3 separate regions of the Homo sapiens genome follow, and all the other regions are linked to region 1. The links are contacts of gene promoters, found by promoter capture Hi-C in blood cells and fetal thymus (Javierre and others, 2016). All regions are on one chromosome and are shown on one strand. The core of a region is centred on a gene start or on the middle of the fragment in contact, and the rest is flanking DNA. Distances in the headings are between cores, read along the strand shown.

Region 1 (3,983 bases), core at 89-2,588:
TTGTTTTTAAGACGGAGTTTCCCTTTTGTCGCCTAGGCTGGAGTGCAGTGGCGTGATCTCAGCTCACTGCAACTTCTGCCTCCTGAGTTCAAGTGATACTCCTGCCTCAGACTCCTGAGTAGCTGGGACTACAGGTGCTCGCCACCATGCCCAGCTAATTTTTGTATTTTTATTAGAGAGGGTGTTTCATCATGTTGTCCAGGCTGGTCTCAAACTCCGGACCTCAAGTGATCCATTTGCCTCGGCCTCCCAAAGTGCTGGGATACAGGCGTGAGCCACCATGCCCAACCTAGTTTCTCTACTTTAAAGCATGTATTTTAAAAATTATGGAACATCCTTAAATGGAATACTACATAGACATTTAGAAAAATTAGGTATGCCTGCACATGGAAATTTTCCCAAATAAAAAAAGCTAGTGTATGCCCCAAAAATCTGGAGGAATATGTAACTGGTTATCTTTGGGTAGTAGGATTATAGATGCCTTCCACTTTCCATAATAGATATTTATGTAGAGTTTGAAGTTGCATTACTTTTGGCTTGTTTACTTTTATAACCAAAATAAACAATAAGATTACAGTTAAAATGCATTTAAACTTTATTACATATAATTTACGTATCTCTGCTTACCTTCAGGAATCTTATTAGTTTTGTTTCTCTCCGATCCTTTATTTTATTTATTTATTTTTTTGAGATAGAGTCTCGCTGTGTCGCCCAGGCTGGAGTGCAGTGGTGGGATCTCGGCTCACTGCAACCTCTGCCTCCCAGGTTCAAGCAATTCTCTTGCCTCAGCCTCCCGAGTAGCTGGGACTACAGGCATGCATCACTACACCCAGCTAATTTTTGTATTTTTAGTAGAGATAGGGTTTCACCATATTGACCAGGCTGGTCTCGAACTTCTCACCTCAAGTGATCCACCCACCTTGGACTTCCAAAGTACTGTGGTTACAGGCTTGAGTCACTGTGCCCAACTGAGTTATTTTTAATTAATATGAACAAACATCCTCTAATGCAGGTTTCTTGTCTTAGTTGCAAACATTAAAAAAAAACTGTGTGTGAGTGTGTGTGTGTGTGTGTATTTCTCTGGGGAGAGGGTTCATAGCTTTCATCAGATTTGTAAATTTGGCCTTCTAAAGTGGAGCAGGAGGATGTATAAGCAAATTAAGCCATATTATTCAGTGACTAAAATAGTAACAATGAAAAAACAGTAACAATAAAGGTTTGAGGCAATATGAAAAAGTCATAACAAGGTGATAAGTGAAAAAGCAGAATGCAAGATTGTATTTATTCTGCAAAGTTGTCAAGATTGTTTTAAAAAAAGAAAAAGAAAGTTTATATCTAGGCTGTGCATTCATCAATTATTTATTGAGCACCTACTATATGTCAGACACTGCTCTAGATCTGGGGATATAGCAATAAAGAAAATAGACAGTAATCGGCCAGGCACAGTGACTCACGCCTATAATTCCAGCACTTTGGGAGACTGAGGCAGGCAGATCACTTGAGGTCAGGAGTTTGAGACCAGCCTGGGCAACATGGTAAAACCCCATCTCTGCTAAAAATACAAAAAATTAGCCAAGCATGGTGGTGCACGCTTGTAATTCCAGCTACTCAGGAGGCTTAGGCAGGAGAATCGCTTGAACCCGGGAGGCAGAGGTTGCAGTGAGCTGAACGGAGGTTGAGGTGATGAAGTGAGACTCTGTCTCAAAAAAGAAAGGAAGAAAATAGGCAGTAATCCCTGTTCTGTGGATCTTACATTCTATTGGAAAGATGGAATGTAAAGAAATAAGTAGCCGCACATGGTGGCTCACCCCTGTAATCCCAGCACTTTGGGATGCCAAGGTAGGAGGATTGCTTGAAGCCAGGAGTTTAAGACAAGCCTGGCCAACGTAGTAAGACCCAGTCTCTACAAAAAAATTTTTTTAATTAGCCAGGCGTGGTGGTGCACGCTCGTAGTCCCAGCTACTTGGGAGGCTGAGGTCAGCAGATCCCTTGAGCTCAGGAGGTTGAGGCTGCAGTGACCTATGGTTGCACCACTGTGCTCATGCCTGGGTGACAGAGCAAGACCCTGTCTCTAAACAACAACAAAAAAAAACCCAAACTGTCACCACTTACAAGCTGTGTGATCTTGGGCAAATAGCTCAGCCTTCTGAGCCTCAGTTTTCTTATCTGTTAAGTGAGGATAATTGTACCTATCCCATAGTGTTGTTCTGAGGATTAAAGGAGACACTGCCCAGAACCAAGAAAATTAACACTAAATCATGGCTGTTGTTACTATTATTTCCCCCCGGCCTACTGAGAACCAACTAGAATTCATAGGTCAAGGAAGGGATAAACCTACTGCTACAGGTGATTGCCGAGCCAGAGCACGAGTATGAATAGGTGTGGGTGTACGGGTTGTCCAGCAGAAATTTACAGCTGTCCAGCTTCTTGGCCTGGTCATAGCAGTTGTCATGTGTCTGGCAGCACCTGGAAAGTGGGAGGGACAGCTGAGATAGGAGTAAGTGCAGAGCAATAGGTCAGCCCTCACCTGCCCACTCTCAGGAACAGGTGGGGATGACTTCGCCAAGATGCTTCAGGAGAAATGATCCTATGGCTTGAAAAAATATAAGTCCTTTTATCATATATTTATTGAAAGCATTTTTTTTTTTTGAGACAGAGTTGCTCTGTTACCCAGGCTGGACAGCAGTGACACGACCTTGGCTCACTGAAACCTCCAACTCAGTCTCCCAAGTAGCTGGGGTTACAGGCGCTCGCCACCATGTCCGGCTAATTTTTGTATTTTTTAGTAGAGACAGGGTTTCACCATGTTGGCCAGGCTGGTCTCGAACTCCTGACCTCAAGTGATCCGCCCGCCTCGGCCTCCCAAAGTGCTGGGATTACAGGCATGAGCCACCGCGCCTGGCCTGAAAGCGATTTTTAACATGGTTGCAAGAATACAGTAAAATCCTGTATTCAGAAGGTGCAGTGACAACCACTGCTAGAAAATGACACGTGGATAGTTGCTGTGATGTTTACTGTTGCTACATTCTGCCACTGGAGGGCAGCATCGCCCACTGTTTTGCACGTCGGTCATTGTTTCCATCTCTAACGGGGTGCGTTCGCTACAGGGTCCTCTTGGAACATATTTGTTTATTTGACAAGAGGTGAAAATATGTTATCCTTAGCAGATATGCAAGTCCCCTTTGTATGCCTCGTGAGATCCTTGGCGTGTGCCCCACCCCGCCCCCGGCAGGCACTCCAATTTTCCTGCAGGCGGATCACTTACTTGTCCAGTTCATCCACGGGGGTGCCTGAGCCCCCCAAGCCACAGTAGCAGCCGTAGTTGTTGTATTCCAAGAAGGGGTCACTCCCCGGGATCACGCACTTGATCATTTTGCGGAACTGCCACACGGCCCGAGGGCTGATGCCGCTGTCGGCGGCGGCCACTGCAAGAAGACATAGCCAGAGTTCAAATCGGTCTGCCAGCACCCCGGGGACACACTGCCTTCCTGCTCCCTCGGGTCCCACGCTGCCTCCCTGACCCCTGCCAGCTGCCTCCTCTGAAGACCGTTGGACCCAGGAACCTGGTAAAGTGAAAGTGGGTAGAGGTTTTTTTTTTTTTTTAATGAAAACTTTATATATATAAAGTTTATATCTTTGTGTGTGTGTATATATATATATATCTTCTTCTTTTTCTTCTTCTTCTTCTTCTGGGACCCTACCGCCTCAGCTAGGATTACAGGCATGTGCCACCCAGCTAGGCCTGATAGTTTTTTTTTTTTTTTTGAGATGGAGTCTTGCTCTGTTGCCCAGGTTGGAGTGCAGTGACACGATTTCAGCTCACTGCAAACTCTGCTTCCCGGGTTCACGCCATTCTCCTGCCTCAGCCTCCCTAGGTCAGATAGTTTTAAACTATCTGCACTGTTTATCCAGTGAATATTTATTGAGCACTTACTATGTGCCAGGCTCTGTCCTAGGAGCTAGAGATACAGCAGTGAACAGAT
Region 2 (3,678 bases), core at 1,162-3,661, 150 kb after region 1:
CTAAAAAGATAAAAATTAGCTGGGCATGGCATCGCGCAGCTGTAATCCCAGCTACTCAGGAGGCTGAGGCACGAGAATCTCTTGAACCCAGGAGGCGAAGGTTGCAGTGAGCTGAGACTGTGCCGCTACACTCCAGCCTGCACGACAGAGCCAGACTCCATCTCAATAAATACAATAAATAAATAAAATTAGCCTGCATTCAAATCACTATTCTGCAAATTACTAGTAGTCATCTCTGGGTAAGTGTTTAATCAAGTTTTTACATCTCTAATGTGAACAGTATGCCTATCTCACAGGGTTATTGTAATGGTTAAATAAGATACTACATGAAATGCTTTGCTTGAATCTTCACATCTAGTGACACCAAAAGATAGTTTTTCTATTATGAAAGGAATGAGGGAAGATGACAATGTAGCGTATCATATAGTAAGTTTGCATTCGAAAAACAGAAGAGGGAGTTCAAATCCATTGATCCCGGCCTGGCGTGGTGGCTCAGGCCTGTAACCTCAGCATTTTGGGAGGCTGAGGTGGGTGGATCACTTGAGGTTAGGAGTTCAAGACAAACCTGGCCAACATGGAGAAACCCCGTATCTGCTGAACATAGAAAAATCAGCCAGGCATGATGGCGGGCGCCTGTAATCCCAGCTACTGGGAAGCTGAAGCGGGAGAATCGCTTGAACTCAGGTGGCGGAGGTTGCGGTGGGCCGGGATCGCACCACAGCACTCCAGCCTGGGCAACAAGAGTGAAGACCTGTCTCAAAAAAAAAAAAAAAATAGTACCTACACCTCATAAATTGTTAAAAATACTAAATACAGGCTGGGCGGGTTGCTCACGCCTGTAATCCTAACAATTTGATCCGCTGAGACGGGAGAATCACCTGAGCTCAGGAGTTCCAGACCAGCCTGAGCAACATGGTGAAACCCCTAATTTATCAATCTAAAAAAATAAGAAGGAAAGAAAAAAAGCTAAATACACACCATGGCACTTGACCCATAGCAACTGTTGAAAAACCACAATGGCACGGTTACTAAATAAGCGAGGCATAGCCTTCTCCGGCTTAGGGGTAAAAATGCCCAGTTCCGGTTTTGAGGCAAATGAGGAGATACTAGGGATGAGCTGTCAGAGTCGACTCTTCAGCCATCAACGCCTCGCGGTGCTTCCTGCCTGCCCTTCCTCAGATGCTCCCCTTGCCCTATCAATACGTCCACCCCAGGTAGGTCGGACACCCTACGAACATTCCGCGTTCCCCGGGAGCAAATGATGCTAGGAAAACAGGGTGCGGGCTCTTATTTGGCCGGAGTGGAGTGACCAGGTCAGCGCCGCAGCTGCTAACCACCACCAACCACAGTTTTGAAAGTTCCTGGGCTTTTTCCGGCCTGAGGGCCGACGCTGTTTGCAAAATCACAAGCACTCCTTAGAGCGGGGTTAGGAATCTAGAGTTTCCAAATCCCTGGAACCTTTAGCATCTCGCCAAGCCTCCCTCATCAAAGGAGGGAAGTGAAATCAGAGCCCCACTCCGGCTGTTTTAGAAGTTTTCCCGAATCCGTGATCCCTTTACAAAGCCCGGGCCCTGGCCTGCGGGGCGGGGCGCGCGAACGGCGAGCTATTCCACCAGAGATCCCTCCACGACCTCCAGCGGCATCCGCGACCCTGCAGCTTGCTCTCCAGCCACGGCGAGCACGGGCCGGGGGAGAGGCGAGCGGGAAGGGCGAACGGCGACCCCCGCGCTGCCCCGCGGCCGCTTCCCCCTACGGTGCTGCCCCAGGCAGGAGGCGGACAAGGCTCATTTGGACCCCCCGAGGCCGGTGCAGGCGGGCTTGGGCCCTCCAAAGGCTCAGCTTTTGGGTTTCTAAGTAAAATATTGGAATAATAAAAATAAAGGAAGTGACGACGGCGCGAAGGACGGCCCGGGCCTGCGAGGAGAGGCTGCCTCATCCTCCACCCGTGAGGGGGCGCCGTGAGGGGTCTGCGCGGAGGCGGGGGGAGGGGAGGCCGGGGGGAGGGGAGCCCTGGGGGAGGGGACAGCAGGGAAGGCGGGGGCCTCAGGCACCGAGGAGGAGAGGGCAGGGGCGCGGGGGCCTCACCGGGGGTCCTCGAAGCGCACGAAGGCGAAGGGCACGAGGCCGTGCCGGTTCTTGAGCTCGATCTCGCGGATGCGGCCGTACTTGTAGAACAGGTCCTCCAAGTCCTTCTCGCGCACGTCGGTCGGAAGGTTCCCCACGTAGATGCGCCCGTCGCCCTCGCCGCCGCGCTCGTCCGCCCAGCCCGACATCCGCACCGCCCGACGCCGCGGGCCCGCCGCAGCCCACGTCGCCGCCGCCGCCTCAGCACGGGTCCCCCCGCAGCGTCCCCGCGGGCTCCGAGGCGCTCAGCCGCACTGCATTGTGGGAACGCGGAGCGGAAGCGAAGGGGTCGGCGGAGGCAAAAGGAGTCCTCTTAAAGAGAACGCGGCTGCGACCATTGCGCGTGCGCGCAGGCCGGCGCCCCCTGGAGGTGCGAAGGGCCTTCGGGCGCTGACAGGGAGAGCCTGGGGCCGGGCCGTGTGGATGCCATCCCCGAGCGCGGTTCGCGCTCGGCTGAGGCGCTGGACAAGTGGCTTGGGCTCCCGCGCCTCAGTTTCTCTCTGTGGCGCCGCCTACCTCACAGACTTGTGAGCACTCACTGACGTGGGTAGCGCCCAGGGCCTGCGGGGCGCAGGAGAGCTGGAGTCAGGCGGAGACCGCAGGCTGACCCCGCAGCGGCCGGGCTGTCGCGGCCCCCACCTCAGGTCAGTAGGCCCCCGGGCCACCCTGTCCCCATTTTACAGTTGCTCAGAACTGACGGTGTCAGCATGAGATGGACTCCATAGCTTGGCCTTGAGTTTGTCGGAGTCGAGGGAGTAAGACTCTTAATGAGTATCACAGCGATCACTATAGAGTGCATCCGACTTGTGCTTTTCATCCTCTCCCGGGCAGAGTCTGAGGCCACAGAGGGGTCAGGAATGGAACCCAGAGCCATGCTCCCATCCTAAGTACTGAGTCCTTATGGAGCTCAGGTAGACACCCACCTTGGCACTTACTTTTCCACATTCACATCCCAGAACGCGGAGCATTGAACCCAGGGACCTTACAGTGAGGCCTTGCACCAGAAGACTTTTTGTTTGTTTTTGATACAGGGTCTTATTCTGTTGCTCAGGCTGGAGTGCAATGGCGCGAACACGGCTCACTGCAGTCTCGATCTCGCTGGACTCAGGTGATCCTCCCACCTCGGGGCGCCGTGAGGGGTCTGCGCTGCGTCCAGCTAGTTTATTTTCTATTTTTTTTGTAGAGAGGCTGGTCTCGAACTCCTGGGCTCAACCGATCCTCCAGCCTTGGCCTCCCAAAGTGTTGGATTACCGGCTTGAGCCCGGCGCCCGGCTGGAATACTCCTAACCTAAAGATTGTTCAGGCTGGGTGCGGTGGCTCACGCCTGTAATCCCAACACTTTGAGAGGCCAAGGCGGGAGGATCACTTGAGGTCAGTAGTTCGAGACTAGCCTGGGCAACATGGGGAAACCCCGTTTCTACTAAAAATACAAAAATTAGCTGGGCGTGGTGGCGTGTTCCTATAATCCCAGTTACGCGGGAGGCTGAGGCAGGAGAATTGCTTGAGCCCGGGAGGCGAAGGTTGCAGTGAGCCGAGATCATGCCACTGCACTTC
Region 3 (3,874 bases), core at 1,132-3,631, 170 kb after region 1:
CTCCCAACTAGCTGGGACTACAGGCGCTCACCACCACGCCCGGCTAATTTTTTTTTTTTTTGTATTTTTAGTAAAGATGGGGTTTCACCATGTTAGCCAGGATGGTCTTGATCTCCTGACCTCGTGATCCGCCTGCCTCGGCCTCCCAAAGTGCTGGGATTACAGGCGTGAGCCACCACACCCGGCCATATAAGGTATTATTAATGAACAATTACATTACTATATTATGATGATAGTATTATTATAGTAAAAATTAAATAAATAATAACAGGGGTAGTGTAGTGTAGATATGGAAAAAAATCATGAGGATGATTTAGGAAATTTCCCTGGGGTTTCTACTTAGTGGAGTCACCGTGGCTTTACTTTAGTGTCATTTGCATTTCCAGGGTCCTCACTTGTTGTCAACCTATTTCTTCCTCAAGAGAGGTACTATAGTAATATTATAACTCCTCAAACCCTGAATCTCATCATTAGAAACATGGAACTGGAAAAAGCTGTTGATTTAATTGATATGCATATGTTGAACCTGAAAAGGTTCTAATTATTGCCATTTTTTTCCTTTTTTTTTTTTTTGAGACGGAGTTGCCCAGGCTGGAGTGCAATGGCGCGATCTCGGCTCACTACAGACTCTGTGTCCCGGGTTCAAGTGATTCTCCTGCCTCAGCCTCCTGAGTAGGTGGGATTACAGGCACGTGCCACCATGCCCAGCTAATTTTGTATTTTTAGTAGAGATGGGGTTTCTCCATGTTGATCAGGCTGGTCTCAAACTCCTTACCTCAGGTCATCCACCCGCCTCGGCCTCCCAAAGTGCTGGGATTATAGGCATGAGCCACCGCACCCGGCCTATTCCCATCTTTTTCTTTCTGGAGTTGTGTGCCTCTGCTCAAATTGTTTTATTTTTATTTTTTGAGATGGGGTTTGGCCATATTGCCCAGGCTGGTCTCCAACTACTGAGCTCAAGCGATCCCCTTGACTCGGCTTCTCAAAGTGCTGGGATTACAGGTGTGAGCCATCATGCCCAGCCACAAATTGTTTTAAGGAGTAATGAGAGTAGATGGTCAGAGGAAAATGTAGAAATGTAAATAGGAAGCTTCCAGATACATGATTAACCTGATAACTTATTTATGGAGGTTCGAAAAATACATTATAGGCATTTCAGAGCTGGTTGTTCAAAACCTTGCTGTGGCCTTTGGGATAGTTGTATAAACTGACAATTATTGATAAGATTCATTGATCATTTACTATGTGCCTCACATTGTGCTGAGAGAACTTCAAATGTTTAATACTGCTAACAAGCGTATGAACTGGTTTCCTTTTACATTTAGTCCTCCTTTACTTAAAGAAGACATTCAAATAGCTAGTAAATGACAGTGCTGGGATTTAAATCCAGATCTGACTTGTCCCTCAACTCCCCCAAGATCTTGCTTTTTTAACCACTTCGTGTCTCCTCCCTAAGCCAGAGGGGACGTCATCTCTCTAACGGCCGCTTTTTCGTCCATTAGAATACCTCCTCCTCAGAGATAAATCCCAACCAAGAATCTCTCCCACACAGGAAAGACTGCCTCACCTGAGCAAGAAGCTTCACCCTGGACAAAAACCCCGGGGCTCAACACTCCCAAATCCACCCGGATCCCCATCCCCAACCCCTTAAAGGATGTCCGCATTGCTTGGCAGAGACCCCACTCTTGGGGATAATCCCTTAATTCGTAAGGAAACACCCTCCCTCCTTGAAGCCCTCCCTCAATCCTGAGGATGCCCTCCCCTAAATATTTCAGAGCAGAACCGACTACAAATGGGGCCCAGTGCAAAATGAAAACGTAAGGGTCCCTCCTGTGAGACTGCACTGCTGGTTTACCCACGAAGCCGGCCCTGCTTCAGAGATACCCTTTCAGTAAAGGGAGAGGCCACCTCTGTCGTAATCCTGCTAACCTGGGGTGCGAGATCATGCGACCTGTCGTGGTGGGGGGGCGGGGGGGTGGGGGCAGGAATGGCCACCAACTTCTAGAGACTGTTGTTCGAGAACACACCCTGGGACAACCTCCGTGAATTTGGAATCACTTCCCTTGGCCCCGGCAGAAGCTCCCTTCCTACCTCTCCAGACAGCTGGGTGGTCCTCGTAACCCGGCCGGGGCTCCACCTTCTGGGTGTGTGGGCCTCGTAGCGTGCGGCCCATTGCCCGGGCAACCGACGCCGTGAGCGGTGCATTGTGGTCTGCAACAAAATGCAGGAGAAAGATCCTGAGGGAACCATGGAGTCAATGGACCAATGGAAGAATGCCGTGGGCTGCGTCAAGCCAATAGGGTCGCGCGGCGAGGGGCGGGGCCGGCGGGAGCAGGGCGGGGCCTGAGCACTAGGCGGCGGCGGCTGGCGTGGGGCTGCTTAGATGCGCCACGGTTTCGGTAGCGACGGTATCTCTAGCCGGGCCTGAGCTGTGCTAGCACCTCCCCCAGGAGACCGTTGCAGTCGGCCAGCCCCCTTCTCCACGGTGAGAAACTCGGGGGGCCAGGGGGTGTCCTCGCTGCCTTATTTCGCCCCACTCCGGACTTAGCCCTCCGCGTAGCCCGCGCTTCCTGAGAAGTGGGGTGGGGGGCGTCGTCCCGTGGTGGCGCCGGCCGGGGTGGGGGCAGTTAGTGCCTGGGGGGCGCGGCCCAACTCAACCCCTTACCCCAGGCCTTGCCCACTAGGTAACCATGTGCGACCGAAAGGCCGTGATCAAAAATGCGGACATGTCGGAAGAGATGCAACAGGACTCGGTGGAGTGCGCTACTCAGGCGCTGGAGAAATACAACATAGAGAAGGACATTGCGGCTCATATCAAGAAGGTGAGGATGGGCGCGGGGGCCGATACGCAGCCGGGAGCAGGGGGTTCCTTCCCCCCGATCCTGCTTTCCTAAGGGCGCCTGACAGGTCCCGGGAATACTGCTGGCGGCTTGGGGCGTAGAAGCTTCCAGAAAGGACGCAGATGCATTTTGCGCTCCTGTGGAGAAGACCAGACCCCCGGCGTCCGAAGTTTTTTTTTTTTTTTTTTTAATTACCCAGCTCCGCGGGGGGAAAGCGCCACCTAGCAACGGTATCTAAGATCAGGGAGCAGCGGTTCCCCCTTCTGTGTGGTTCCTGCGCCGAGGATCCATCTGGGTGTTCCGGAGGGGGGAGCTGCGTGGGTGTTTCCAGCCGGGCCGGGAGGAGATCTTGCCAGCCTTCCAGTGGGGAGTTGAGGGAAGGTGGTGGGTGGTGGCGGGGCTGGGGGCTGGGGTAGGGGCTTGGTAAATGGCAGTCTAGAAAGCCGGCAGGACTGCCAACTTCTCGAGCAGTGTTTGCTGGAAGGGAAGAAAGCTGGCAGCCTAAGCCGTGGGAGGGTTCCAGTCGAGAATGGGAAGATGAAAGACTTCAGATGGAACAGAAATAAATGCCTTTTTTGACAAACGCAGCAGTGCGTGCCTCTAGCTTGCAAGAGCGTTACTCCCCTTCATAGCTTTAAAAGGTTTTCGCACTGCGTGCAGTTAGAGTAGCTAAATCTTGTGTGACGCTCCACAAACACTTGTAAGAATTTTGCAGAGAAAGATAACCGTTGCCACCCAATGCCCCCCACAGGCATTCTACTCCCCAGTACCTCTTAGGGTGGGAGAAATGGTGAAGAGTTGTTCCTACAACTTGCTAACCTAGTGGACAGGGTAGTAGATTAGCATCATCCGGATAGATGTGAAGAGGACGGCTGTTTGGATAATAATTAAGGATAAAATTTGGCCAGTTGACAGATTCTGTTTCCAGCAGTTTTTACAGCAACAGTGGAGTGCTTCAGTATTGTGTTCCTGTAAATTTAATTTTGATCCGCAATCATTTGGTATACAATGCTGTTTGAAGTTTTGTCCTATTG

What was found. Contacts are between HindIII fragments. The CHiCAGO score rates a contact against its expected background, and 5 or more counts as called.
Region 2: the fragment with the promoter of SRSF9 here is called in contact with a fragment that was not itself captured in region 1 in 1 of 17 cell types (M2 macrophages); the score reaches 5.3 in M2 macrophages.
Region 3: the fragment with the promoter of DYNLL1 here is called in contact with a fragment that was not itself captured in region 1 in 3 of 17 cell types (naive CD8 T cells, naive CD4 T cells and erythroblasts); the score reaches 5.3 in naive CD8 T cells.

The regions. Positions count from the first base shown.
Region 1 is chr12:120,322,596-120,326,578 of GRCh38, forward strand. It overlaps PLA2G1B (phospholipase A2 group IB), which reads right to left. Exons shown (of 4, transcript NM_000928.3): 2 at 3,266-3,425; 3 at 2,339-2,466. Among named protein-coding and RNA genes, the nearest start is that of PLA2G1B, 3.2 kb to the right of the region's middle. RefSeq lists an enhancer at 3,081-3,140. The HindIII fragment of the contact is 7,122 bases long and covers 1-3,983 here.
Region 2 is chr12:120,467,337-120,471,014 of GRCh38, forward strand. It overlaps SRSF9 (serine and arginine rich splicing factor 9), which reads right to left and starts at 2,412. Exons shown (of 4, transcript NM_003769.3): 1 at 2,086-2,412. The coding sequence starts at 2,273. It also overlaps a transcript of DYNLL1 not described here. RefSeq lists silencers at 1,651-1,820, 2,071-2,370. The HindIII fragment of the contact is 9,777 bases long and covers 1-3,678 here.
Region 3 is chr12:120,493,732-120,497,605 of GRCh38, forward strand. DYNLL1 (dynein light chain LC8-type 1) reads left to right here and starts at 2,382. Exons shown (of 3, transcript NM_003746.3): 1 at 2,382-2,485; 2 at 2,685-2,822. The coding sequence starts at 2,691. It overlaps NRAV (negative regulator of antiviral response), which reads right to left and starts at 2,215. Exons shown (of 2, transcript NR_038854.1): 1 at 2,092-2,215. RefSeq lists silencers at 1,926-1,975, 2,266-2,785 and an enhancer at 2,040-2,706. The HindIII fragment of the contact is 1,365 bases long and covers 1,578-2,942 here.